7 separate regions of the Homo sapiens genome follow, and regions 1, 2, 3, 5, 6 and 7 are each linked to region 4. Evidence: promoter capture Hi-C in 16 types of primary human blood cells and fetal thymus (Javierre and others, 2016). All regions are on one chromosome and are shown on one strand. The core of a region is centred on a gene start or on the middle of the fragment in contact, and the rest is flanking DNA. Distances in the headings are between cores, read along the strand shown. Region 1 overlaps LOC100505782 (a long non-coding RNA gene). Region 2 has its middle 13 kb from the start of KRT32. Region 3 holds the start of LOC124904004 (a long non-coding RNA gene). Region 4 holds the start of KRT26 (keratin 26). Region 5 has its middle 9.3 kb from the start of KRT17. Region 6 has its middle 5.4 kb from the start of KRT19. Region 7 holds the start of LINC00974 (long intergenic non-protein coding RNA 974).

The links. The method cuts DNA at HindIII sites, captures the fragments that hold promoters and counts their contacts. A CHiCAGO score of 5 or more calls a contact.
Region 1: a fragment that was not itself captured here is called in contact with the fragment with the promoter of KRT26 in region 4 in 1 of 17 cell types (M0 macrophages); the score reaches 5.5 in M0 macrophages.
Region 2: a contact is called between a fragment that was not itself captured here and the fragment with the promoter of KRT26 in region 4, in 2 of 17 cell types (erythroblasts and M2 macrophages). The highest score is 5.4, in erythroblasts.
Region 3: a fragment that was not itself captured here is called in contact with the fragment with the promoter of KRT26 in region 4 in 7 of 17 cell types (activated CD4 T cells, M0 macrophages, naive CD4 T cells and 4 more); the score reaches 8.7 in activated CD4 T cells.
Region 5: a contact is called between a fragment that was not itself captured here and the fragment with the promoter of KRT26 in region 4, in 7 of 17 cell types (activated CD4 T cells, naive CD8 T cells, total B cells and 4 more). The highest score is 8.5, in activated CD4 T cells.
Region 6: a contact is called between a fragment that was not itself captured here and the fragment with the promoter of KRT26 in region 4, in 4 of 17 cell types (M2 macrophages, M1 macrophages, megakaryocytes and 1 more). The highest score is 7.4, in M2 macrophages.
Region 7: a contact is called between a fragment that was not itself captured here and the fragment with the promoter of KRT26 in region 4, in 6 of 17 cell types (M0 macrophages, M2 macrophages, naive CD4 T cells and 3 more). The highest score is 7.8, in M0 macrophages.

What each region holds. Positions count from the first base shown.
Region 1 is chr17:41,403,157-41,406,358 of GRCh38, forward strand. The region is part of intron 1 of LOC100505782 (a long non-coding RNA gene); the gene reads left to right. Among named protein-coding and RNA genes, the nearest start is that of KRT31, 7.2 kb to the left of the region's middle. RefSeq lists an enhancer at 534-1,733. The HindIII fragment of the contact is 2,100 bases long and covers 246-2,345 here.
Region 2 is chr17:41,453,341-41,456,292 of GRCh38, forward strand. No RefSeq gene overlaps it. Among named protein-coding and RNA genes, the nearest start is that of KRT32, 13 kb to the right of the region's middle. The HindIII fragment of the contact is 509 bases long and covers 1,047-1,555 here.
Region 3 is chr17:41,654,148-41,657,262 of GRCh38, forward strand. It overlaps LOC124904004 (a long non-coding RNA gene), which reads right to left and starts at 987. Exons shown (of 2, transcript XR_007065756.1): 1 at 1-987. RefSeq lists enhancers at 1-101, 102-798. The HindIII fragment of the contact is 2,956 bases long and covers 59-3,014 here.
Region 4 is chr17:40,770,793-40,774,018 of GRCh38, forward strand. KRT26 (keratin 26) reads right to left here and starts at 1,409. Exons shown (of 8, transcript NM_181539.5): 1 at 881-1,409; 2 at 362-444. The coding sequence starts at 1,321. The HindIII fragment of the contact is 2,390 bases long and covers 1,156-3,226 here.
Region 5 is chr17:41,632,398-41,635,279 of GRCh38, forward strand. It overlaps the pseudogene KRT42P. Among named protein-coding and RNA genes, the nearest start is that of KRT17, 9.3 kb to the left of the region's middle. The HindIII fragment of the contact is 4,882 bases long and covers 1-2,882 here.
Region 6 is chr17:41,532,053-41,535,267 of GRCh38, forward strand. No RefSeq gene overlaps it. Among named protein-coding and RNA genes, the nearest start is that of KRT19, 5.4 kb to the left of the region's middle. The HindIII fragment of the contact is 1,193 bases long and covers 1,313-2,505 here.
Region 7 is chr17:41,552,307-41,555,141 of GRCh38, forward strand. LINC00974 (long intergenic non-protein coding RNA 974) reads right to left here and starts at 2,189. Exons shown (of 3, transcript NR_038442.1): 1 at 1,974-2,189; 2 at 1-231. RefSeq lists an enhancer at 9-509. The HindIII fragment of the contact is 643 bases long and covers 970-1,612 here.

The DNA of each region.
Region 1 (3,202 bases), core at 46-2,545, 630 kb after region 4:
CTTCTCCCACTGCACGATGGGGATTGTGATGTCTGTTCCCCTCTCTCAAGGTTGTTTGGGGCCTCCATTTGGATACAACACAAAGTACTTTAACAAGTGTTTTGTAAATGGTGAAACAATGAACATCTATAGGGATTCTGTTTCCCTCCTCCTCTTTCTCAATAGACAAGGTGGTTTTAAAATGGCAGGAAGTGAGTTGAGCTTCTTTGTCAACTCCTAGTTTATTAAAATTGCCAGAGTCCTCAAGCTTCAAGATCCTGTGAGATACTAAAGGACTTTTATTCCTTGTACCACCCTTTGTGGCATAAATTCTCAGAAACGTTTCTTCTAACATAAACATACTCATTTCCTTCAAGGAAAGGAATCAAAACAATGGGGTCATTATGATTCTATCATCCTTTTGACAAAATCTGAGACTTGGCCTCTGTAAAGCACAGTAGTTAAGAGCACAGTTGCTGGAGGCAGGCTGCTTGGATCTGAATCCTGGCTTCACCACCTAATAGCTGTGTGACCTTGGGCATGTTACTTAGCCTCTCTGAGTCTTGGCTACTTGTCTGCAAAATGAGAAAACCATAGCATTGGCTTTCTAGGATTGTTGTAATGATTAAATGAGTTTACCCATATGACTGTAGCTATAATTTAGACCAGCGCCTGGCTCATAGTAAGAGCTTGATGGATATATGGTTCTATGACAATGATGATGATGGTGAAGCTATATGATTTGATGATGATGATGATGATGATTCTGGTGATGGTGATGGTAATGATGACCTCTGTGGTTTCCAGGGAAACTCTTCACACACGACAAACACACAGATGTGCGTGCACACACACACATGTACTGTCTCATCAAAGCTAATCTTTTAATTAGAAATGAGAGAGCACTGGATGTGAACTTAAGAAACACAGGTCAATCACCCTGGGGCCCCACTGACTCACTTTATGTCACCAGCAGAATCCCTTAACCACTGAATGACTCACCTTCTCTCTCTCTCCCTTAAATGGGAAGGACAATGCTTGCCTGTGCCGTCATGGTGCAAGAATAAGTGGGTTTATTTTGTTAGACAGCTTTGAACTTGTTGGATGAAAGGAGCTATTTAAGTACAAAGGAGATGAGGGCAGCTGGGTCAGGTACTAAATTAAGACTAATCGAGATGGCTCTTCATTATTGAGAGCTTCTCTTGGGTAGGTGCCCAAGGGGTGTGTCACGTGTGCCAAAACAGTTTTACCACTTGAGAAAAAGAACAGAGGAGGGGAGGGCGTGGCAGCCTCTGACCCTTCTTGGGCTTCCTATGCTGGAAATCCCAGTGTCTCTCAAGCAGATCAGTCCTATGTACATGAGCAGTGACCAACAAGTAGGACGCTGGGCTTGAGAGCAGTTGGAGGCAGAGCAACAAGATTCTCACTTAAGCTCCCTCCAGCCTTGGGGCTCGGGACTGTGGTCACTCCAGCACCACACCGCTGTATCAGGAAGACCTGGATTAAACCAGAACCAGCTGTACTTGTAAATTTTTCAGCAAACTACAGTGATTCAGAGAATTCACAGAGGGAAAGGGAAGACCAAAACCAGCTCCTAAAGTAGATTTGGTGGTTCCACTTCAATGCCTGTGGTTTCACTGATCAATAAGACATAGAAAGCAGGGACGCACAGAGTTAGGGGGGCTACAGCCATCTCAACCAGCCCCATCAGTTCCCTAAGTGTTCCCCTCAACATCCCCATCAGTGATTCTGAAGCCTCTGCTTGTCTCCAAGGATAGGGAACTCACTGCTTCTCTTCTCTGGCCAGCTGTGATGCTGAATTCTGGAGATGTGCTGATTCTCAGCCACGGCTATCAAAATATGGAGCTTTTGATTCATGTTCTACCATCTGCAAATTCCAAGACAGACAGTTGCCATAAGGACTCACCAATGGGGGTTACTGGGGAGGTTGGATGGGTCAGCTTGTTTGGGCCTTTCTAGACTGATAGAAATAACTATCATGTAACATTTTCAGAGTTTTGCAATGTAAAAGAGAAAGGCTCTATCCTGATCTGATGGTATGAGGGATTCCTCACTGGAGGACATATCAGGACGGCAAGGCCAGCCCTTTCTGTAGAGGGTCTAGCTAGTCAAGGGCTCATTCCTCAAATAAACTTCCTAACCCAGTGTTTCTCAAACTTGAACCAACATCAGAATCACCTGCAAGTCATGCTAAAGCAGAATGCTGGTTCAGTAAGTCAGGGGTGGTGCTCAAGAATGTGCATGTCTAGCAAGTTCTCAGGTAATGCCAGTGCTACCTGCTGGCGGACCACGCTTTAAGAACCACTGTCCTAAACCTTCTCATGTTTAATTTGTTTCCCCCTCAAAGCTTCCAAAGAACGGGCTTTGGATCTGGTTCAAAGAGACTAGGTTTCAAGTCTTGACTCAGTAACCAACTGAGAATAATAACAGCTGCTTCTTCTTTGCAGGGCTGATGTGGTGCCCTGTGACACAATGTCGGCGAAGCCCCAGCCAGTGCCTTGTTCATAATGGGCATGTCATCCTAAAAGCTCAATTTAAGTTACCTGTTCTGGGGCTTCTGATTCATGTTCTACTGTCTACAAATTCCAAGCCAGACAGCTGCCAGGACTTACCAGTGGAGCTTACTGGGGAGCTTGGACGGGTCAGGTTGTTTGGGCCTTTCTAGACTGATGGCGATTACCATCAGTTAATATTTTCAGAGTTTTGCAACGGTCTGTGGTGCCGCAGATTTGAGCTCTTCCTTTACACAAGGACCAGGTGGCTTATCCAGATAAAAGGGAAATTTTACTTAGCGTCTATATTTTAAAAGCTCTATCTGTAAATCTGTCTCCAAATACACTTGGTGAGGTCCAAGGTTGGGTATCTCTCCTCTGTGCCACTTTGCCGCAGTCCCATTTTTAACTCTAGCCTTCACTGGCTTTGCCATCTCCCAGAACCACTCTGGCGAGCCAGCCACAACCCCCGTCTACAGAAGCATGTGGCTCAAGGAGTTCCCAGCAAGGCTCTCAGCATGGGACGGAGATGCTGAGGCTGGACTGCACTGGGCTCATTCTGCTGCAGAAGCGAAGTTTAATAGCAAAATAAAAACAAAAGTGCCTGCCCCATCTCAGAGAGATCAGGAGGCAACAGAAGAGAGAAAATGGAGCACTTGGGACACCTTGAGGGGAAGAAACAAATCCAGCCATAGGGGCTGAGCTGCTGG
Region 2 (2,952 bases), core at 51-2,550, 680 kb after region 4:
AAAGTGAGGCTGAGAACATGGCAGCCTTGAATGCCAGGCTAAAGAGCTGAGGCTTCATTTTGTAGGCACTGTCTGCTCCCCAGCACCCAGCGATGCAATCACTCATTGCTGGTGCTCAATAACTAGTGAGTGAATGGTGGCATGTCCTTAAATAAGGCAGGATCTGGATTGTGAAGAAATAAATCCATATCCCACTCACAGTCCTCTCATTGCAGACATCAGCAATGATGCTTGTTGAATGGAACTGGTTGTAGAACCAAGTGGTTGGGCCCTTGACATCACAGTTTATTTCTGGCACCTTCAATCCATCTTTATGAACATTCATGGACTGTCATCCCCCCAGGCAACCCCTCCAATTCTCCCATCACCAATCCTCAGCCCTCTCTTTCCATGCCACTGACACCAGAGCTCAAGGCCTCATCTTACTTTTTGTTGGAGCTCCTTAATGGTCTCAAAGTGTGAGCAGTAATTGGAGCATATGTCAGGGCACTGCCGTTTGCTCCACTGCTGGCTCTCAGCACCACCCCTGCTTCTCATTCTCCTGCTCCAACTGCTGCAACTTCTGCAAGCAGTTGGCCAGGCACTCACTTAAGAACTGCATGATCCCTTTCCCACTGCTGCTGAGGATGTCTTCACTGAACCAGCCACAGGTGCCCATACTGGCAGGGATGTTCCTGGTCCCTGGCAGAGGACAGGCAGAGTGACTGCTGGCAGGGCCAGGCTGGACTGACTGTGAGCCACAGGTTCTAAGGAGATGGCTACTAGGTTGGTGACTCTCTTACAGGTGGGCCCCAGTCTTAATACTGGGATCTACAGACATTGGGTACAGAGTTTCTAGAGTGGTTTCTGGCCACAGCCTGTCTGGAGCAAGGAGGCTTCAAATGGCTCTTGCCAAAGCTTGAGGAGCAGGGATTTCTGCTTTAACTAGAAGCCATGGTCCTAGACAGTTGAGTTGCAGATTGGTGACAAGGGCCAGGTGCTCAGGTGTGAGTGTTTCCTCACCCAGAGCTTTTATTCACCTGCCATAGGAGCAGATGTGATACACAAGCTTTCCCCCAATGAATCCTCATTTGTTCTGCCATCAGAACAACCCATCAGCAGTTATTCAGTCCTCAGAAGTAGCTCCCCACTTTATGAAAGAAAGGGCTGACTTTGGACTTCTTGTTACTGCCTTCTGTTGTGAAAAGAAATGTTAAATGTTTTCTCTTTAGAGATGCCCCATTGAAAAGTTAGACTTTGTTCCTTGAGTGACTATCTGGCCTCTCTCTAGGAATGGCATTGGCTCTAAGATGAATCGTCCTCTCCACTGACCTTCAATACCCAAAAAAGTAAAATTCTCTGATAAGAGCCTCAGGAATCCCTAAAGAGCAATAGAGCAAAGACTGCTAAGTTATTAGAACTAAAGAAAACTTCCAAGTACTAATTCAACCTTTCGTGCTTCAGAGACCAGAGAAGGACAGTGAGCTCCCCAGGGATGCCAAGCAAGTCAGATACAGAGCCAGGACTGGTCCCAGGGCCCCTAGCACATTCTGTTTCCTCTGCACCAAGATGGACAAGCTTTTTCTGTTAAAAAGACAGATGCTAAATATTTTAGGCTTTGCAAGTCGTATACTCTCTTTGTACTGCAACTACTTAGCTCTGCCATTGTAGCACAAAGCAGACATAGACAACAGGGAAATGAATGGGTGTGGCTATGCTCCAATAAAACTTGATTTACCAAAACAAGTAGCAGTGGGGTTTGACCTGTGAGCTGTAGTTGCCATCCCTGCTTCACACAGCACAGTGAATGAGGCTTAAAAATTGGACCCCTTAAGCATGTGGGAGACCTTCAGTCCGCTCTGGAGCCAGAGGGCTGGGCAGAGGGAGGGCACCTGGGAATGGATGGTGAACTCCAGGACTGGACGCTGAGCCTCAGACACCAGGGCCTTCACTCTACCAGGGCATTTACACCAAGACTGGAAGTTCATCCAATGCTCTTAGAGCAAAGCAAAGCTACCCATATGTTGTTGTTGCTGCTGCTGCTGCTGCTGTTGTTGTTTCTGAAACTTGGGCTTCAGAATGGCTCCAAAATATGACTCAGCTGCCATTGTAATTGGGGAAAGTCAGAAGAGAAGAGAAATTTGTTGCCAAAGCATGTTTTCTTTACTCAACATTCATCAGGCACCTACAATATGCCAGGCATCATGACAGGCATTTTTATATGTACTATATCCCAACAACTCTGTGAAAAAGGTAGAATTACTCCCATTTCTAAAGGGGAGAAGACTGAGATGCATAGAGATTAAGAGTTCTGCCAAAATCACACAGCACATTAGCAGCAGAACTGGGGGTCTAGCCCAGTTTTTCTGAAGCCAAAGGCACTGATCTTCTCCATTAATCCTAGATGCTCATTGGTGACTTTGTTTACATATTATGATTAAGGGACACTGCTATTTAAATACAAATTTGTCTTGATCAGTTGGGCAAAAAGATAGACATCAAATGATCTTAGGAACTTTCTGTTTAGCCGAATTGATATCATTGCATTCAAGTGTTACATTTTATGAAATACAGGCCGGGTGCAGTGGCTCACGCCTGTAATCCCAGCAGTTTGGAAGGCCAAGGTGGGTGAATCACCTGAGGTCAAGAGTTCGAGACCAGCCTGGCCAACATGGTGAAACCCCATTTCTACTAAAAATACAAAAATTAGCCAGGCATGGTGGCATGTGCCTGTGGTCCTAGCTACTCAGGAGGCTGAGGCACAAGAATCACTTGAACCCAGGAGGCAGAGGTTGCAGTGAGCCAAGATCATGCCACTGCACTCCAGCCTGGGCTACGGGGCGAGACTCTCTCTCCAAAAGAAAAAAAAATTATGAAATACAAAAAGAATATTGTTTTATTATTAATGATTTTCCTGGTTATACCCTGGAAGAGGCATATTCTTTTTTTGATCACTCTCTAAAAGGTTTCCTA
Region 3 (3,115 bases), core at 287-2,786, 880 kb after region 4:
CCCAGCAAGGACATGCAAGCCAAGCAGTTCCCACACCCCGTTCCTGGTGGCTGCCAGAAGCTTCCTTACAAGGCCCCAGCGCTGAGCTGGCTCAGCTGCAGGCGGGGGCCTGGGTGGGGCACAGCACACCTGGCTCAGCCAAGCCCAGACGCACCCTGCAAGTGAGGAATGCGGACGCCGCCCGGGCTGGCCCTGGGAAAGCTGCTGCCCTCGGCTCCTGCCCAGCCCTGACTCAGCCTAGGTGGGCCAGGGAAGCTGCAGCCTCAGCAGAACCAAGTCTCCCACCCCACCCTCCCCGCTGGCCTGCCTGGGATTGAACCAGGGGACAGGTCCTGGCAGGGGACTGAGAGTAGAGACAGCACCCCCTGGCCTCAGGACTTGGGGGAACAGCAGGGACTCTGTGGGACCTGCCCTTCTCCTGCACTGTCTGGAGGGTGCCAGCACAGCTCTGTCCGGGGGGGCTGCCCACAGCACATTTTCCCAGATGCCTGAGCCTCAGTTTCCTCATCCGTAAAAGGGGGCTAGTGACATTCCTGCCCACAGTGCAGGGCTGCAGTGGTGGAGGAGGTTCCCGGGAAGCATTTGAGAAGCAAACAGACCTCTTCCTAAGAAACAGAAGCGTCTGCCTAACCCCATGAGGCCAGGTGATCCCGTGCTCCATGCAGAAGAAACAGAAGCGTCTGCCCAGCCCCGTGAGGCCGGGTGGTCCCGTGCTCCATGCAGAGCAGGGTGACTCCATCATCCTCTGTCCCTGGCCCCAATACGGTTATTCCAAACTCCCCAGGACAAGGGCTGTGTCTCCCCCTCCGACTAGGCGGTCCCTGAAGGCTCGGGGCATGTCTCCCCTCAGACAAGAGGCTTCCCAGGGACAGAAACTCCATCCTCCTTGCTCCATCGCCCCACAGTCCCATGCCCTGCACTGCGGAAACCACAGGCCAGTGAAGGCCAGAAAAACTGCCCGTCCCCTCCTGGCGCCACCTTACCCCAGCCTCCCCAGGCCCTGACATCCACCTCCTTGCCCACCCAGCCAGCCCCCAAACGCGACGCTGGAGTGCCTCACGGTGCCCACCCAGACCCTGGGGATCAGGAGGCAGAGCCCCCCAGGTCTGGCGCTGGTAGAATCTCCCATCCCTCCCTGCCTGCAAAGAAAGGGCCCACTGGCCTCCCTCCCTGAGCCCTCCCACAGCTGGGCTGGCCAGAGAGAACTTTCTCCCTCTGCTCTCTTTCTCTGCTGTAGTTCAAGCACAGACCCTCTCACCCCAGCCAGCCCTTCTCCACCTTCCGGGCGCACAGTCTTAGGGGTGGAGCAGAGGCTGAGGTTGGGGGCCTCACAGTCAAAGGTGCTGAGACAACAGCCCCGCTGCCCTGTGCTCACTCAGAAGCTCCTGGGGAACTGGAGTGGAGGGGAAGGGTCCCCAAGCCCACAGGTTCTGGCTGCCCCTGCCACGTCCCCTCCCCCAGCCAGGCTTCTCCCAACTGCGGCAGGGCGTCTGGGCTCAGGTTGGGGTGCAGCGTTGGCAGGACAAACAGTCTCCAGTGTTGGGTGTTTGCCTCGGTTACCAAGGAGGGAGGTGAGGGGCCTGGCTCCCTGCCATGTTTGGGCCCCGGGCTGAAGGTGTGGGTGGCAGGGAAGGTGGAGGATTTGAGGTGGGGAGGCTCACTTCCCGCTCCCAGGGCTCGAGGGCAGGGCAAGCCAGCTGGGACTGCCAGATCCCTGGGCGGATTCAGACCTGCATCGGCCCTGCCTTTCTGCTGGCTCTGGGAAACTCAGTCAGGCAGGAGGAGACGCTGGGGGCGGGGCAGCCTCCCTTGCTGCTCAAAGCAGGGCTGTGGGCTGGAGGCTGGGCCCCGGCAAGTCAGGTACTGCCGTGGGTGTCCCAACCTTCCGGGACTGACGGCACCACGGCCTAACTCAGGCCGCCCGGGAGAGAGGCCTAGGAGCCCAGCTCTGGGCCCATGAATTTGGACAAGTCACCGCCCCTCTCTGGGCCCCAGTTTCCCCACCTATATAGTGTCAGGAGCTGGCCTGTGTAGTCCCACAGGGGCCTCCTTTGTTTTGTCCTCCCTGTCATGAGCTGGGCAGGTGGATGCTGAGGGGTTGAGGAGTTGGGCACTGAGCCGGGAGTTGTGACCCGGCCTTGAAGCCCTGGCTGGAAGGGCTCAGTACACATCCAGGCGGCCCTACTGCCCTGTCTGAGGCTGGCATGCAGTGAGTGCCCGGCTGAGTGCAGGAGCCCAGGGCTGTGGTCAGGAATGGCCGGGCCCTTTCTCCCTCTCTCAGCAATGATGAGAGCCACAGCCCAAGGAATCCCCTGCTGCCTCCTGCTCCCAGGTCTCCATCGCAGCCTCAGCATGACCGGCTCTGAGCAGGAAGTAGGGGAAGCAGGACAGAGGCTGGCCTGGCAGTCAGAGAGTGCACAGCCTGGCTCAGGAGGCTGGCAGGTCATCAGGGGCATAGAGCTGGCCCTCGTTGATGGGGCAGGGATGGCTTGGGGAGGGTGGAGACGCCGAGGCTTGAATTAGGGGGTGGGGGGTGCAGGTAGGGAAGAAAGGAAGAGGACTTGAGATTGTGACCAGGCAGTGCCACAAGGAACACAGGAGTGTGGGCCTTCCATGGGGAGGGAGGAAGGTGAGGCCAAAAGATGGCGGGGCAGGGGAAGGGACCACTTGCCTTGCAGCCCGGCCAGAGAGAGCGAGAATGAGCAGTTCCCACACCATGAAGACCTTTGCCCTGGCCCTGCTGGTGGCCCTGCTGTGCACAGAGAGACCCCAAGGTCTATGCTGCCACCAGTGCTTGGTGGCCCCAGCCTGGCACAGGCATGCCTGCCCCGCTGCCACATGCCCCTTCCCTGACAGGGTCTGCGTCTCGGGATATGAGAGACACAGGGAGTCTGGGTCCCTGTGGCATCTGGGAAAGTGAGAGTGGGGAACAGGCTCTGCCTCCTTTCCCTCCTGCCCCAAGAATGATACCATCATTTGGAATGTGGAGGTTCTGGACACCTCTATGAGTTCCAAGCTTTCTTGTTGCAAGAGAGGCCTCTGTAATGCGGGGGTCCTGGTGGCAGGCAGCACCTGGGCCCTTCCTTGGGACTCCTGCTCAGCCTGGGTCAGTTCC
Region 4 (3,226 bases), core at 159-2,658:
TCATGTCTCAGCCTCCCAAGTAGCTGGGATTACAGGAGTGAGCCACCATGCCTGACTATTTTTTTGTGTGTGTACTTTTAGTAGAGACGGGGTCTTGCCACATTGGCCAGGCTGGTCTCAAACTCCTGACCTCAAGTGATCTGCCTGCCTCAGCCTCCCAAGGTGCTGGGATTACAGGCATGAGCTACTCTATCCAACCATGATAGCTCTTTTTATAACGGCTTATTTAATTCAATTTCTTTATTGATCTAGTCTGGCTTTAGAAAAACATTTTGGTTTTCAAAGCAAAATATATATTCCTTAATCCAATTGTAATATTTTAACTTTTATTAATATAATTAATCAGTTTGTTTTCACCTACTTCAGCCTGAAGTCATCAGCGGTCAGTCTGGCATTGTCATTTTGTAGAACAATGCTGGCATTGCAGATGGTCGCAGAAATAATCTAAATAGGGAAGATTGTGAAAAATGTTAATTACCAAAAGTCAAAGGAGGCTCCAGACTTCAGTGTGATTTTATATCTTCTTAATCTGTCAAACATCTGTTTTAGTATCTTTTTTCTATGTTAAAGAAATCTGGATTTTCTTCAGATAATAAGCATCCAGAGCTTAAGAGCCACATAGATACTTTTACTACTTTTGATCAAATGGTATGAGCTAAATATATGAAAAACGAAGTGACTATATCTGTTTTGAAATGATTTCTTTTTCATTATTTAATTCTACAAGATTTTATTGCCAGGTACTGTGCTTAGCACTGGAAATACAGAGTGAACAAATCTTACATCACATAAATTTGTTAGGCACATTTTATATTTTCTCTTCTTTAAATTATCAACACACAAAGTCTGTAGTAAAAGTATGCAAATCCCTATTTCTTACCTGCCTTTTAAGATCTTCTATGACTGAGAAGTATCTGCTATAGTCATGATCGTGTTCCCGGGAAGAGCCAGGCTCACATTTCTCGTACCAGCCCTTGATCTTCTGCTCCAGGTCTGCGTTGGCCTCCTCTAGAGCATGCACATGGTCCAGGTAGGATGCCAGGCGGTCGTTGAGATTCTGCATGGTCACCTTTTCATTCCCAGAGAGGAGGCTGTGCTCATTGCCAAGAAAACCAGCACAGGCACCACTTCCCAACCCTCCACCGCTATTGCAGAAGCTTCCTCCAGAAGAGATGCCCTCAAGAGTACAAGAAAAGCTGCTTCTTGCTCCCGATCCAACACACACATTCCCAGCCACGAAGCCTGTTCCTCCACCGGACAGCCTACCAGACCCAGTTCGCGAGCAGATCCTCCTGGATCCACCAGAAAGTCGAAAAGACATGGTGGCAGCACAGCCGGGCAACCCCTTCCCAGAAAGAGGAGCAAAGCCAGGGTTCACCTTCCACACTTGTTAGCTCCCTTGGCCTTTTATAGTATTCACTGGGTCATTTCAGTCTTGACTATGCCAGTCTGTAATAAAATTTACTTGCATCCTAATTGTTGTTTTTCACAATTGGGTAATTTTTAACAGCGTCCAGTCTGTAGGTGGAAAGGTGCCCCAAGGATATTTTTTATATATAAAAATGGTGCCAGGTGAAGTAAAACTAAATCATAGCCTCAAAGGCCAAAATTAAATATGACTAAATGTGCATCTTTTTGGCCACTGGAATATTAATAGAATCTAGATTCTCCCCCTGCCACATATAACAAAGAATTAATAATTCCAATGAGAAATGTCTCCTACTTTTGTCCTGTTAACGCTCATAGAGTATTTCTAGTATTCCCACTTCATTGAGTGCTTCCTTTCTTCCTTTCGTTTCTTTTTCTTTTTTCCTTTTTTTAAAGATATGTGGTCTCGCTATGTTTCCCAGGCTGGTCTCGAACTCCTGGCCTCCAGTGATCCTCAGCCTCAGCACCCAGCTCAGCCTCCTGTGGCCAGCATTACAGGTGTGAGCCACTGCCCTGGGTGTCTGGGTGTGTGTTTTCCTTCTTATCAAAACCAGAAAATCTCAGCATCTATTGATCTTTTGGTAGTGGGAGATTTTAAAAGAAATCTACCATTTCTTGAATTGAAAACTGAAGTAATAGAAATCCTGCAGTCCTGCTTATTGTTAATTTCAATATAATTCATGAATATGTGATGATGGTGGAGAATTAATTCGATTGAGATTTCTTGGTTTGGTCCAGGAGCAGGACATCAATTCAACTAACAGTCTCCAAATTGTTCACTTCCCTACCCCTAAATAGTGTTTACTGTCTTTTAGTTTAAATGTATGTATTTAAGACATTAGGAATTATTTTGAGAAGTGAGCATCATATTGATTAGCAAGGAGTAAAATATATAAGGAGGGAGGTGTTTTCATCATTACCTAGAAAACCAGTACTTATAGTACCCTAGAGAGAAGATAAGTTGTCACAGGGAAGTACTCTTTATTCTCTTGCCTTGATGCTCTTGGGAAGTTATCCAGGCTTGGATCATTTCCCTACTGGGCAAATGAAAATAATAGCATCAAAGAGTCTCAAATGAATGTTGAGCAGTTCCAATCATGAATGACGATAAGACAGTTTGAAAGGCACAAACATTTTTAAATGTTAATTATTTAAATTATTATAATAAAGTGGACATGTCAGACAGGGTCGGGTCTCTATCACCTATAATGATACAAATTGATTGGTTAACTAATTATGGGTTTAGTTTTGAAACAGTAATTTTCTTCCGAATGATATTTTTCAATGTTGTGGATAGTGAATCCTTTGGAAAACATCCAACATTATTGTCACTAAATCGTATGGAACATTTAGTGGACTGCATGGATTTTCTAAATCAAAAATATTTAAAAATAAATAATAAATACAGAGCTATAACTGGACCATCAGCTTATGTTTAGAACAGTGCATGATAACCTAGATACAGTTCCTGTTTAGAGACTTTTTACTGATTTTGTTGTGACCTGGTCAAATTTTTAATCTTTTGCTAATTTTTCCCAGAAATAAAACAAGAAAAACAGAGAGTATTGTCAGTTTAATGATTTATAAGGCTTGAGTTTCTTAGGTGAGTTATTATGAGATTTCAAAGTATTATTAACATAATCTATTTATCTCTAGATACTTTATAAATACAAATTATCTTTTGTGAAACAAGTTAAACACATATTATTAGGACTATTTTGGAGATGAGTTGTCTCTGAAGCTAAGTGGCCACACAGATTACAAAGCATTTCTATATCAAAGCAGGACTGGAATATAT
Region 5 (2,882 bases), core at 322-2,821, 860 kb after region 4:
GGCCCCCCTGGCCACCATACTCATCACTTGCACTCCTCACCTGCCACTGGTGGCTTTGCTCTGTAGGACCCTCCAGGGCAGGGTTTGTGCAGAAGACAAAGTGGCCATGTTTACAGAATGCCAAAGCCATGTTCTTAGAGGTCATGAGAGAGAGTGTGTGTGTATGTGTGTGTGTGTGTGGTGTGTGATGTGTGTGTGGTGTGTGGTGTGTGATGTGTGTGGTGTTTATGTGTATGTAGTATGTGTGTATGTGGTGTGTGTGGTGTGTGGTATGCATGTGGTGTGGTGTATATGTGTGTGTGGTGTGTATGTGTGTGTGAGATCTGTGTGTATTGTGTGTGTGGTGTGTATATGCGTGTGGTGTGTGTGGTGTGTGGTACATGGGTGGTTGTGGGTATATATGTGTATGGTGTGTGTGTAGTGTGTATGTGTGTGGTGCGTGTGGAATATGTGTGGCATGTGTGGTGTGGGGTGTGTGTGTGGTGTCTGTGTGTATGTGTATGTGTGTGTGGTGTGTGTGGTGAGTGTGTGTGTGATGTATCTATGGTGTGTATGGTGAGTATGTGTGTGGTGTGTGTGGTGTTTGTGTATGTGTGTGATGTGTTTGGAGTGTGTGTGTGGTGTTTGCGTGTGTCTGTGATGTATATGTGGTGTGTGCGTGATGTGTGTGTGGCGTGTATGTGTGTATGTGTATGGTCTGTGTGGTGTTTGTGTGTGTATATGTGTGTGATGTGTGTGTGCTGTGTGTCTCTGATGTGTGTGGTGTGTGTGTGGTGTGTGTGCGTGTACGTGCGCGTGTATGTGTGGTGTGTGTGGTGTGTATGTGTGTGATGTTTGTGTAGTGTGTGATGTGTATGAGTGTGTGTGTGGTGTGTGGTATGTTTGGGTGGGTGTGTATATGTGTTGGAGAGGGTGTGGGGGGTTTGGGGGGGTGTGTGACTAATATGTGTGGAGGGGGTGTTGGGGGTGTGGTGGGTATATGTGTAGGTGTGTGGTATGTGTGTGTGTATGTAGTATGTGTGTATGTGGATGTGCCTGTGAGCTATGTGTGAATGTGTATATAGGAGTCTTTTAGTGTGTGTGTATCGATCGGTGGGCATGCGCCTGTGTGTGAATCTGGGAGTGTGAGGTGTGAGTGGGGCGCGTGGCGTTTGGGGTAGTGTGTGATGTGTATGGTGTGTGGTGTTTGTGTGTGTGTACGTGTGTGCTGTGTGTGGTGTGTGTGTGGTGTTTCTGTGTGTGTATGTGTGTGATGTGTGTGGGGTGTGTGTGGTGTTTGTGTGTGTACGTGTGTGGTGTGTGTGTGGTGTTTGTGTGTATGTGTGTGATGGTGTGTGTGGTGTGTGTGGTGTTTGTGTGTGTGTATGTGTGTGTGTGGTTGTGTGTGGTGTTTGTGTGTATGTGTGTGCTGTGTGTGTGGTCAGTAAGGTTCTGCATGGTCTTTTCACCGCCCCCGCAGCAGGGCATCCGCCACGTCAACGCTGGAGCCAAAGCCCCCACCCAGGTTACAGGTGTAGCCACCGCTGTAGCCTCCCCCAAGTCCCACCAAGAAGCAGGAGGAGGTGACCGACATGTTGCCACAGCTGCTGACTCCCAGGAGGCTGGCGAAAGGCACCCCCAACACTGACAGATGACATCCAGGAGAAACCCCCGCCAGGTGTCCACAGGCCCTTGACAGAGCCAGAGGTGGAGAACTGGCAGATGCTGGTAGTGGTGACAACCAGGGTGTCCATGGGTCGGGTGAAGAGTCTGGTCTGGATGGAGACCCTGGGTAGCCCGTTACAGCCGGGCTGAAGTGGGGCTGGGACCCTGGCCCTTGAAGTTCAGGCCAAAACCCCAGGAGTGTATTTTGCCTCCTCCCACCCACCCAGGGCCTGGGGCTCAGGCTGGACATATTGAGAGCCTCCCCAAGGACCCCTCCATAGCAAGAGCCCAGCCTGAGCACCAGGGCCTCAGCGGTCTGTTCAGACACAAAGGTGGTGGCCAGGCACGGTGGCTCACGCCTGTAATCCCAGCACTTTGAGAGGCAGAGGCAGGTGAACCACCTGAGGTCAGGAGTTTGAGACCAGACTGGCCAACATAGCAAAACCCCATCTCTACTAAAAATACAAAAATTAGCTGGGCGTGGTGTCACGAACCTGTAATCCCAGCTACTCAGGAGGCTGAGGCAGGAGAATAGCTTGAACCTGGGAGGTGGAGGTTGCAGTGAGCCGAGATCACACCATTGCACTCCAGCCTGGGCAACAAGAGTAAAAATCTGTCTCAAAAAAGAAAGAAAGAAACAAAGGTGGTGCTGGTCTGTAGCCCTGGGGTAGGGTGACCCTCCATCCTCAGCCACAGTTAGGAGGCTGAGCTTATTCTTGTGGGGAGCCCGGAGAACCCAGCCCTGGGAGCCAGCACGGGCACAGGACAAGGCTGCACAGGCCAGGAGCCGGAGGCTGGCCTGGCCCCTCACCCAGCATTCCAGGGCCCTGGGGTAAGGGTGGAGAGATCGGGGCCTGACATCATTGCCCAGGTACAACGTGGCCCTGGTGGAGACTCCCAGTCAGAGGAGGCAGAATTAGCCTCTGACCTGTGGGAGCCCCACTCTCTTGGGATTCTTCCAAGTCCGCGGGGAGATACAGCCCACAGGTTCAAGGATCCCTGTGTCTGAGGGAAATAGACGTGGCCGCTGAACTGAGGGAGCTTTGGATCCAAGCCTTTCAGGAAGTCAGTTCTAGAGCCTCCGTTCCCTCGTTTGTAAAAGGGGGACCAAGTCTTGTCTCCCAAAGTCTTTGAGGGAATCTGGAGAGATAATGACGTCAGTAAGGCTCTAACAAAACAGGAAGCAGAGGTGGGGCTGGGAGCAGGGGTCTGAGGCCAAAGGGTTAGGGCAGCCTCCC
Region 6 (3,215 bases), core at 659-3,158, 760 kb after region 4:
AAGAATAATGATGACCAAGGTGATAATAATACAGTAGATAATCATAGCCAACATCTACTGGGCCAGGCTCCATGCTAAACACTCTGAATATATTATCTCAATGAATCATGTTAATTAAGTATTATTGTCCCCATTTAACAGTCAAGAAAATTGAGGCTCAAAACGGTTAATATCTTGTCCAAGGTCACACAAGTAAGTAGTGGACTGGGTATTTGGGCCAAAATCTTTCACTCCCTCAAGCCACAGTCCCAATTGCTAATGCTGCCCTCCTCTCATGGGAAAGGGATCAAGGTGCCTTCTTCTGCTGCCCTGGAGAAAGAGCCACCAAGTTGGGGAAGGCATTGTATCATCTGCCAAGATCCCAACTTGCCCTGCCTGCTCTGATGCACAATTATTTGTTTGGTCAGTCAGTGGGCCATTCAAGCAAGTTTCCTCCAAGTTGAGCCTAGCAGAGGAGACAGACTCGTGTCCATGAGCAAAGCAGAAGGCTCTGTTCATAATCTGGAGGAGAGGAAAGGTAAATGTGTGGAAAACTTCATGAGCTTGCATGTCCTGTCAATTAGTAGCTCCTTACCTGAACGGCCTCCGCTTCCCCAGGGACCACCAGCACAAGGAACTTCCTCACCCGCTCCTCCATTCATTCAGTGAACATGCATCAAGCGCAGCTTCTGTGCTACGCATGCTGCCAGGGGCTGGGGCACAGAAGTAAATACAAATATTTCCTGCCTCTAAGAGGCTGACAATCTGGTAGGGGGGTGTATAGAAGTGTATTAGCTTTGGTGAAATGTGGTAGGTTCAATAGCTACATCAATTTTGACTCCTTCCTAAAACCCTGCTATGATATGACAGTTAAGGAGTATTTTAAGAGAATGGAAGAAGAGGTGAGGCACAGTGGCACACGCCTGTAATCCCAGCGCTTTGGAAGGCCGAGGCGGGCAGACTGCTTGAGCTCAAGAGTTTGAGACTGGCCTAGGGAACATGGCGAACTCCTGTCTCTACCAAAAATGCAAACAATTAGCTGGGCATGGTTGTGTGCACCTGTAGTACCAGCTACACAGGACGCTGGGGTGAGAGGATCACCTGAGCTTGGGAGGTGGAGGCTGTAGTGAGCCAAGATTGCGTCACTGCACTCCAGCCTGGGTGACAGAGTAAGACCCAGCTGGAAGGGAGGAAGAAAGGAAGGAAGGAAGGAAGGAAGGGAGGGAGGGAGGGAGGGAGGGAGGGAGGAAGGGAGGGAAGGAGGAGGGGAGGGAAAGAAGGAGGGAAGGAGGAAAGGAAGGAGGGAGGGTCAAAGATGAGAAATGTCAACAAAAGCTTTAAAGCTCAAAAATGGTAACACAGAAGATGAGAGAAAGCTGAGACCCAGGGTTTGGGGGATTAGGAAGGGGTCAACAGAGGAGAGAGCAGGAAGCCCGTGAGAGGCAAGCACATTCTCAACATACTCTAAAGAAGCTCAAGAATTGGGGCACCACAGACATGGAGAGGAAAAGTGGAAGAGGGACCGTAAGCAGGGCTGGCTGGAAGTTTCTGTCAACAGTACCAGGCCCCCTCCCAGACCCCTACCCAACTAAGGCAGCCAGGGGACCACCTCTCCCCAATTCAGGAGAAGACAGGAGATTTACTTTTCCTGATTAGACTGGCCTGCTCACAACGTTTGATGATGTCAAGTGTAGAGAAGCCATGAGTAAATGAACCTCCTCAAACACATTGGTGGGAGGTGGGTTGTAGTAACCACTTTGCAGAGCGATTTGACAATGTCATCATTTTTTTTAACATTCATGCACTTCTTGAGCCATCAGTTCCACTCTTCGTGTTCATCCGAAAGAAACCCTGGCCCGTGTATTGAGGAAGTCATATAAAAGGATGCCCTATGCAGCATTGTTTGCTACAGTGCAAAGACACAAACAATCACTAATGGCGGGGAGGCGTTCAGTAACTATGTAACATCCTGCTGTGGAGGACTAGAAATTAAATGGAATGAGTAATGACAATGAATAGTGACACTGAAAACCCTAAAGAACTAGTTATTGGGCCGGACATGGTGGCTCACGCCTGTAATCCCAGCACTTTGGGAGGCCAAGGTGGGTGGATCACCTGAGGTCAGGAGTTCGAGACCACCCTGGCCAACATGGTGAAACCCCGTCTCCACTAAAAGTACAAAAATTAGCCAGTCGTGGCGGCGGGTGCCTGTAATCTCAGCTACTCGGGAGGCTAAGGCAGGAGAATTGCTTGAACCCGGGAGGCAGAGCTTGCAGTGAGCTGAGATCGAGCCATTACACTCCAGCCTGGGTGACAAGAGTGAAACTCCATCTCAAAAGAAAAAAAAAAAAAAACTAGTTGTTGGGTACAGTAAATCTAGTTGGAGAGCAACACACTTAATATGATAAATTCATGTCAACATACATTCAAAAGATGACTTATTGCTAAGGTCCATATGAATATGTATGAATATATGCATAGGTAAGGAAGGAATCTGATTGAAGGATGGTAGCCAATAGGAACCTAAGCTTAATCTCTATGGTTTTAAGTTTTATAAGAATGTATTTAGTATTTCTTGTTAATTAAAGTAAATAATTTCTTAAGTAACACTAAACCACAGACATTTAGAACTAGCCAAATTTCATATAGTCAATACCCTCTTCCCCTCCCTGCACTCACCACTGACATCATTGTCTCTGCTCATCCACACCAACCCTAGCCTTGAATTGAGAAATGAGAGAGGAAGTTTTGGAAGAGGGAGAACTAGATGTGAGGAGAAAAGAGACCCTGGAAAGGGTTTCCATCCTCGTGCCCCCACCCCTGGGTCCGCCAGGCTAGTTTTACTTCTTTATGAAACAAGAAGGCAAAACGGACAAGAAGAACTTTGGAAGAGTCTGAGTACAGGGAGAGCTCCTTGCAGCCGATGACTTACACCTGAGGAAAGCCCTCCCACTCTGGTTCTCCAAGGATCCATCGTCTGGAAGCATCTGAAGTTGGCCCCCCTGGGTGTTCTCACAACAGACAACAAGGCTCTCCCAGGTGGTGGCGTGGATCTGTGGGGCTACAGCTGGTGGCAGAGCAGAGGGTATTCTATGCAAGACAGCAGCCACCTTGTGGGCACATGCGAGGCATTCCCCTGGGGACTTTCTGAAATAACTGGAAGATCTTTAGGGGGTGCTGGAGTGGGAGCCACCATGTGGGCCATCAGGCTAGAGCTATTGACCCAGTATTGAGGT
Region 7 (2,835 bases), core at 41-2,540, 780 kb after region 4:
TGGGGGGGTGTGACGGGCTGGTGGGAGCTCGTAAGCAGGGACATGCCCCTGCCCTGGAGGTTACTCAGTGGGGCTGGGAGTTTCGCAGGTGGTGCTTCTCAGTCCAGCGCTGCTTCCGTGGGTTAGGATGAAGACCCATCTTCTTGCCTTGTCCTCCTCCACGAGGGGCTTATCCAGAACAAAAGCTGTTGGCAGTTCCTGGCCAACAGGTTCTCCTCCTCCACTGCAGGGCTAGAAAAAGGTGAAAACAAAAGGGACATGTGCTTCTCTGTGGCTCTCGGGGTACAGTTCAGTCTCCCCACCATGAGCAAGTCCTCCACGACTGACCGCCTACTCCCACCAGCACCTCGTCATCCCTCTTCAGCCCCTCCTCACCCTCTGCACAGTAGCCCCAGGAAGTTCAAGTTCCAGCTCCTCCAGTGGGCCACTTTCAGTCACACCTCCAGGCCTTCACTGATGCAGTTCCCCCTACCCAGAACTGCCCACCCCCAACACACACAAACACACACACACACACACACAAACACACATGCACACCACCTCCATTGAATATCACCTCCACCAAATATCACCTCCACCAAATATCAAATATCAAATCCAACATCTTCCTGGTGTGTTGACCCAACACTTTCTCCAAAGAATGTTCCCTGCCTCCCAAGACTGTGTTAGTTGTTTCTGCTGTGTGGCCCAGAGTCCCTGGGCTTCCCCCTAATGGAATGCAGCATACTGTATGGAGGTGGCTGTTACCTGTTGGTCTCTCCGACAAGACTCTATGGGGGCAGACTCTGCCTGGGTCACTGTAGTAGCCCCAGCTACTAGCCCCATGCCTGGCACAGAGTAGGCCCTCAGTGATTACCCATTGAATGAAGGGGTCAATGACAGGCAGAGTCTCCACTTGGGGCTCCCAATGAGCAGAGAACTTGGGGAAGCTAACCTTCCTCCCCACACACACCCCACCTTTGAATCTCAAGCTTGACTCTTATGGGTTTGGTGTTGATTCACTTCCCTGAGGTTTCCCTCCATCTTGACAAATGCTCCTTCTGACAACCCCAACATGACTGAGTCATGGTGAGGGCAAGAGATGAAAGGAATCATGTTTGAGAGTTTGGCCTGAGTTCGGGTGAGGATGGCATGTCTCTGAGGCTGAGGGTGCTGGTAGCAGCAAAGACAGACTGAGGGATTCCCGGGTGGGAAGAAAGCTCAGGAATATCAAAGCCATCGGAGGACACATGAGTGTCACACCCAGCATGTGGGTGCAGAGCCGTCCTTAGGGACTGTCTGTCCTTGCAGGGTTATTCACCCAGGACCCCTCTGCACCCACACTCTGCTTCTGATACTCATGTGTTCTCCGACAGCTTTGATCTTCCTGGGGAGAGATCAAGGTAACTCTTGGAGAAAATTGAGGCCACAGCGCAATCTTAAAAAGTGTTAAAAATTGTTAGAGGCCAGATAGGTCGTGCTAAGAGCAGGAGGTAGGGAGCCAGATCAACACTGGTGTGGGTGACTTGGGCAAGGAACTTTTCTTCTCTGAGCCTCAGTTTCCTCATCTGTAAATGGAAGCAACAAGAGCAACCTCACACAGTTGTGAGAAATCAACAAAATGACATATGGAAGCTTCCTGGCCCATGCCTATCCTAGGAAGCTTCCCTAGCCACCATGGCCAGCTCAGGAGACCCCATCTGAAAGTACAGCCCATCCCTCTCATCACCGATGGCACTCACTCAGCACTGGCCTGTCTGCCTGTCTGCCTCTGGCACCAGACTGTGAGCCCATGGGGGCAGAGACCTTGTCTGTTCTGCTCACAATTCCATCTATTCCCAATCCCTGCCACAGAATAGGCACCCAGTGAAGATCTGTTGAATGAATGAATGAATGAATGAATGAATGAATGACTTGAAGAGGGGATGAAAATAGACAGGAACTCCAATACGAGATTTTCAAAAACAGGCAGGTGAGGACCCACCAGGCCTTACCTCTCCTCACGATCTTTTAACTTCTTGTCGTACTATTTCTCCTGGGTTTTATTTTGTTGTTGTTGCATCATTTCTTGAACTTTCTTTCTGGTTTCACAAGAATTCCCTCAGACAATCCCAGTGGATCTCAGTCTAGTAAGAGGAACAGAGAAAGGAACTGATTTTATTCCTGTTTGGGCCTGAGATGGGGAGTGCTTCAGAGCCTGAAGCCAAGAGGCTGCAGCAGCAGCAGCAGCCTCCACAACCAAGCAGGACACTCCAAGGGGCGGGGACTCGAGATCAAAGCTCTAGAGATTTGGGTAGATATTTGCGGACTGTTAGAATGATATGAATAATAATAGAGACCCTCCTCTGTCATCCTCCTCCCTGCACCGTTTGCTCATTCACCCATTCCTTCCTTTGACAAGCACAGACCCAGGGCCTTCTAGGGGGAATCTGAGATCCCAGGAAAGAATCTACCTGTGCCAGGTCACTCGTCTTATTCTCAGCTCTTCATACAGTCATTGCTTCCCACGTAAGCCTTTTTTCTTTCCTTTTTTTTTCTTTTCTTTTTCTTTTTTTTTTTTTAATTTAGAGACAGTCTCATTCTGTTGCCCTGGCTGGAGTACAGTGGTATGATCATGGTTCACAGCAGCCTCAAACTTCTGGGCTCAAGTGATCCTCCCACCTCAGCCTCCCAAGTAACCCAGTAATTAGGACAACAGGTGCATGCCACCATGCCTGTCCAATATTTTTTTCTTTTTTTGGTAGATGCGGGGTCTTGCTCTGTTGCCCAGGCTGATCTCAAATTTCTGGCTTCAAGTGATCCTCCTACCTCAGCCTCTCAAAGTGCTGGGAATACAGACATGAGCCGCCACACCCA